Regions from separate parts of the Homo sapiens genome. Here region 1 is linked to region 2. The links are contacts of gene promoters, found by promoter capture Hi-C in human tissues and cell types (Jung and others, 2019). All regions are on one chromosome and are shown on one strand. Each heading gives the region's core, a stretch centred on a gene start or on the middle of the fragment in contact. The rest is flanking DNA. Distances are from core to core; before and after follow the strand shown. Region 1 has its middle 23 kb from the start of DACT1. Region 2 holds the start of GPR135 (G protein-coupled receptor 135).

The links. The method cuts DNA at HindIII sites, captures the fragments that hold promoters and counts their contacts. A contact is called where the count stands out against the background at its distance.
Region 1: a contact is called between a fragment that was not itself captured here and the fragment with the promoter of GPR135 in region 2, in 2 of the 25 tissues and cell types used here (H1 embryonic stem cells and IMR-90 fibroblasts).

What each region holds. Positions count from the first base shown.
Region 1 is chr14:58,660,085-58,662,784 of GRCh38, reverse strand. No RefSeq gene overlaps it. Among named protein-coding and RNA genes, the nearest start is that of DACT1, 23 kb to the right of the region's middle. The HindIII fragment of the contact is 4,345 bases long and covers 1-2,700 here.
Region 2 is chr14:59,464,114-59,466,813 of GRCh38, reverse strand. It overlaps GPR135 (G protein-coupled receptor 135), which reads left to right and starts at 1,434. Exons shown (of 1, transcript NM_022571.6): 1 at 1,434-2,700. The coding sequence starts at 1,588. It also overlaps a transcript of L3HYPDH not described here. RefSeq lists a silencer at 1,364-1,903. The HindIII fragment of the contact is 12,129 bases long and covers 1-2,700 here.

The DNA of each region.
Region 1 (2,700 bases), core at 6-2,505, 800 kb after region 2:
ACTATTACTATGACCTTTTCTTGATGATCAAAAGCAGATTGAATTTTATTCTTAATCACTGTGCATTTTTTTTGTATTTTTACCACCTCTATCTAATATAAAACATCTGTAGCCTTTGGACTGGACTCCAATTCTCCCCACTACTCTCTGTGTATCGGGTTCACCCCCTCAGCTATGATGCTGCCCTTCACTATATTCCTGCAGTTAATCAACCAAGATTTTGTAAGGATCTTCTCTCTCTGTGCTTCCTATCATCTGTACTACTTGTTTGATTTCAATAATATACAGTTTTATGTGGTTACTTAAAATTTAATGTGTTTATAATTTCACCTCCTAAGATTTAAGCTCATTATCAAGAGATGCTGCGAGTTGTTCCCAAAATACATTCTTTCTTTCCTCCACATAAATAGAACTCCTGATTTTACTTGGGGCACATGGCCACCCATAATGAAGTTCACATTTCTTAACCTTGCTGCAGCTAGATGTGACAATGTAACTAAGTTGTGGCCAATGAGACTTAAGTAAAAGAGTTGTGTGCAACCTCCAGGAAGTGCTGTGAAAAACAGGAAGCATGCTCTTCTTTTCTTCTTTTCCTTGGAAATGTTGACATGATGGCTGGAGCCCACACAGTCAGCTGAGACTCTGAAGTAAAAAATTATATGCCAAGAAATCCAGGGCAATAAGACAGGAGGAAACTGGGCCCTGGTGGTATTAGGAACCTTCCTTGGCAGTCAGGACTGCTTTTTTCGAGATTTATTTCATGTGAAAAACAAACTTACATCCAGTTTAAGCCATTGTAATTTAGGGGTTTCTGTCACCCACAGCTGAACTCACCGTAACTGGTAAAAACAGTGCATGACCATATTTTCATTCATTCTGAAATGATTTCCTGAATATTCACTGCGTGCCAAGCACTGTCCTGGCTCTGGAAATGCAGCACTGAACAAAGCAGAGCCTCTCCCCTTGTAAAGCTTTGTTCTAGTGCAGTATCCACACAGCTCCTAACACAGTGCTACACAGTAGCACTGAACAGGTAGGTGCTGAAATATTGGATGAATGAGTTCACAATGAGCCCTACTGTTTATCCTTTAGTATTAAACTGATTTTGTTTATAAATCTGAAATTCGGCCGGGCGCGGTGGTTCACACCTATAATCCCAGCACTTTGGGAGACCGAGGCAGGAGGAGCACAAGGTCAGGAATTTGAGACCAGCCTAGCCACATAACGAAACCCCATCTCTATTAAAAATAGAAAAATCGGCCGGGCACAGTGGCTCATGCCTGTCATCCCAGCACTTTGGGAGGCCAAGGTGGGAGGATCACAAGGTTAGGAGTTCGAGACCAGCCTGGCCAATATGGTGAAACCCCGTCTCTACTAAAAATACAAAAAAATTAGCCAGGTGTAGTGGCACATTCCTGTAATCCCAGCTACCCGGAAGGCTGAGTGAGGCAGGAGAATTGCTTGAACCCAGGAGGTGGAGGTTGCAGTAAGCCGAGGTCACGCCACTGCACTCCAGCCTGGGCAACAGAGTGAGACTCCATCTCAAAAAATAAATAAATAAATAAATAAAAATACAAAAATTAGCCAGGCATAGTGGCACGCACCTGTAGTCCCTGTAGTACTCGGGAAGCTGAGGCAGGAGAATGGCTTGATCCTAGGAGGTGCAGGTTGTGGTGAGCCAAGATCGCACCACTGCACTCCAGCCTGGGCAAGAGAGTGAGACTCCATCTCAAAAAAAAAAAAAAAAAAAAAAAAAAAAAAAAAAAAAAAAATCTGAAAATCTTTGTATGACTAATGCTCAAAAAAAGAATCACAACTGTTTTTTAAAAGAAAGAAAATTATTTAACCAAACTTCCATTACCATACACTCTGCCCCCCAAAAATAAACACATTAACAAAGTTCTATTGATACCTTTTAAAATATAATGAAAAATGATGACAGCCCAAAATAATGAATTGTAGTGTTACACAAACCCCCATTTTTCTATTTCTTTCTTTTTTTTTTTTTTTTGAGGCAGGGTCCCACTCTGTCACTTAGGTTGAAGTACAGTGACATGATCATGGCTCACTGCAGCCTTGACCTCCTGGGCCCAAGCAATCCTCCCACCTCAGCCTCCTCGGTTGCCAGGACCACAGGTTTGCACCACCACACCTGGCTAATTATTTATTTATTTATTTATTTATTTATTTATTTATGTCTCTCTATGTTGCCCAGAATGGTGTCTTGAACTCCTGGACTCAAGCAATCCTCCCACCTTTGCCTCCCAAAGTGCTGGGATTACACACGTTAGCTACCATGTCCAGCCCTCTATTTCCTTATCCATAATAGGAACGTGTATAGGACTGTTGTGAGAATTAAATGAGATAATGTCTCAGAAAAGGTTAATAAATATTAGCTACATTCATTCAACAATAAATATTAACAGTCTTAAAAATAATCACATTCAGTAGTTCCATTTCTGGGATTCTATTCTAAGAAAATAATCCTTAATATGGGGGGGAAATCTTAACCAAAAAAGTTCATCCCAGTGTTATTTATAGGCAGAAACTAGAGATTTAGTGACCTTTTCCTTCCGTCCAATGGTGAGCTAAGGCCTAGCACTCTGGCTCAAGCACAGATCTATAAACCCAGGACTAGCCGGGAAGAGGCAGACAGGATTGGAAAGAAGCGGAGAAGAAAGGAGATTTTAAGTCCAAATT
Region 2 (2,700 bases), core at 185-2,684:
AGATGGCCCCTGCAATAAAGAATTATCTGGCCCAAAAGTCCATGACGCTTAGGCTGACAAACCCAGTTTTGGTTTGCCACCTTAAACGTTCTTCTATTTATACTGTAAATTTCCTGTAGGATATTTTTTCTGAATGAAATAAGCACTCCAATACTAATACCATTGATTCTAAGATCTACAAATATACTAGTCATTCTTTAGAGCAGTGTTTCTCAAATTTGTGCATCAGAATCACTGGGAGGGCTTGTTAAAACATAGGTGCCTGGGCCCCACCACAGGAGTTTCAGTAGATCAGGGGTATCCTATGCACTGTAGGCCTGATAATTTGTATTTCTCAAGGTTTCCAGGGGATGTTGATGCTGCTGGTCCAATGTCCATACTCTGTGAACCACTGCTTTAGCGAAGAGCCCAGGGTTAGTTAACCTGAGGGTTTATCACACTTTTCCCCATTAGAGGCCATGCCCAGAAACTTGAGATGCAACTTCCCTGGGTAGCCCTGCCTTTCTTTTCCCCGTATCTCCCAGCCAGGTACCTGGAGCTGCATCTGTGGTGATTGCCAGGCTGGCAGCACCTTAGACTCAAAACATACCCCATTCCTGAGAACAGATGAAGGCTGCTAGCAGGGCAAGGCACCAATCCCTCTCCCCCCATTTATCAGCCAGTAGGGGCCTGAGGTCCAGGCCCTTGGAAATGAAGTAACATCTAAAGGAACTATCCTAGCTCCTCAGAGCACCTGTATCAGAATCACCTACGGGGTTTAGAGTCATGGGCCCATCCTTAGTAATTCTGTCAGCCTGGGAATCTGCATTTTATGAAACTCTTGACATCAGTGCTTCTGTAAGTGTGGTCCTGGGACCAGCATCATCATCACCACCCGCGAACCCGTTAGAGATACAAATTCTTGGGTACTTCCCCAGACATATTCGAAACGCTGGGGTTCAGACCTCGTCACTTGTATTTTAACACGCCCTCTATGTGAATTCTGTTAGCTCAAGTTTGAGAATTACTGGTTTAAATTAGTCTGCTTCTCAAGTTTAAGATGTCTGGATGTAGACTTCTGGATTTTTCTTTCACTTCACTTTCTAGATTCCTTTCCTACCTGTATATACCAAAAGCACCCACAGGAAGCAGAGTGCCCCCCCCACCACTCCCCAAAAGGCCTGCCTGTAGAACATTTGTACCCTACAAAAGAGAGCAAGAGTGAACTTTCGTTGAATCTGGTCATTTGTTTGCATGCCAGTCGGCACTTTATCTGGCCGGACATTGGTCCCTCAGGAGGTCGACCTGGCACTCTCGGAAACCCGAACACCCGGGCCGGTAACCTCCGGAGTGGCGGTGTCGCGGGTCGGCTTTGCAGCGGGTACTGGGCTGCCGTCCCGCCCCGCGCTCCTGCGTAAACACGCGGTTCCCTCGGCAACGCTGGAACCCACGTCAAAGGCTCCGCCAGGTCCCCAGCGACCGCCACCCCTCCGGCCGAGCCCAGCTCCCCGCGGCGGCCGCTAGCCCCCGGCCCCGAGCCACCACTCCGACCTAGCGGCCGCCGCCCCCGGTGCGGGATGAGGAGATCCGCGGCCGCCACTGGGCCCCATGGAGGAGCCGCAGCCGCCCCGCCCACCAGCGAGCATGGCCTTACTGGGCAGCCAGCACTCCGGCGCCCCCTCCGCGGCCGGCCCACCTGGCGGGACTTCCTCCGCGGCCACGGCGGCCGTGCTCTCCTTCAGCACCGTGGCGACCGCGGCGCTGGGGAACCTGAGCGACGCAAGCGGAGGCGGCACAGCTGCCGCTCCCGGTGGCGGCGGCCTTGGCGGGTCCGGGGCAGCGCGGGAGGCGGGGGCGGCGGTGAGGCGGCCGCTAGGCCCGGAGGCGGCGCCGCTGCTGTCGCACGGAGCTGCAGTGGCGGCCCAGGCGCTCGTCCTCCTGCTCATCTTCCTGCTGTCTAGCCTTGGCAACTGCGCGGTGATGGGGGTGATTGTGAAGCACCGGCAGCTCCGCACCGTCACCAACGCCTTCATCCTGTCGCTGTCCCTATCGGATCTGCTCACGGCGCTGCTCTGCCTGCCCGCCGCCTTCCTGGACCTCTTCACTCCGCCCGGGGGTTCGGCGCCTGCCGCCGCCGCGGGGCCCTGGCGCGGCTTCTGCGCCGCCAGCCGCTTCTTCAGCTCGTGCTTCGGCATCGTGTCCACGCTCAGCGTGGCGCTCATCTCGTTGGACCGTTACTGCGCTATCGTGCGGCCGCCGCGGGAGAAGATCGGCCGCCGCCGCGCGCTGCAGCTGCTGGCGGGCGCCTGGCTGACGGCCCTGGGCTTCTCCTTGCCCTGGGAGCTGCTCGGGGCGCCCCGGGAACTCGCGGCGGCGCAGAGCTTCCACGGCTGCCTCTACCGGACCTCCCCGGACCCCGCGCAGCTGGGCGCGGCCTTCAGCGTGGGGCTGGTGGTGGCCTGCTACCTGCTGCCCTTCCTGCTCATGTGCTTCTGCCACTACCACATCTGCAAGACGGTGCGCCTGTCGGACGTGCGCGTGCGGCCGGTGAACACCTACGCGCGCGTGCTGCGCTTCTTCAGCGAGGTGCGCACGGCCACCACCGTCCTCATCATGATCGTCTTCGTCATCTGCTGCTGGGGGCCCTACTGCTTCCTGGTGCTGCTGGCCGCCGCCCGGCAGGCCCAGACCATGCAGGCCCCCTCGCTCCTCAGCGTGGTG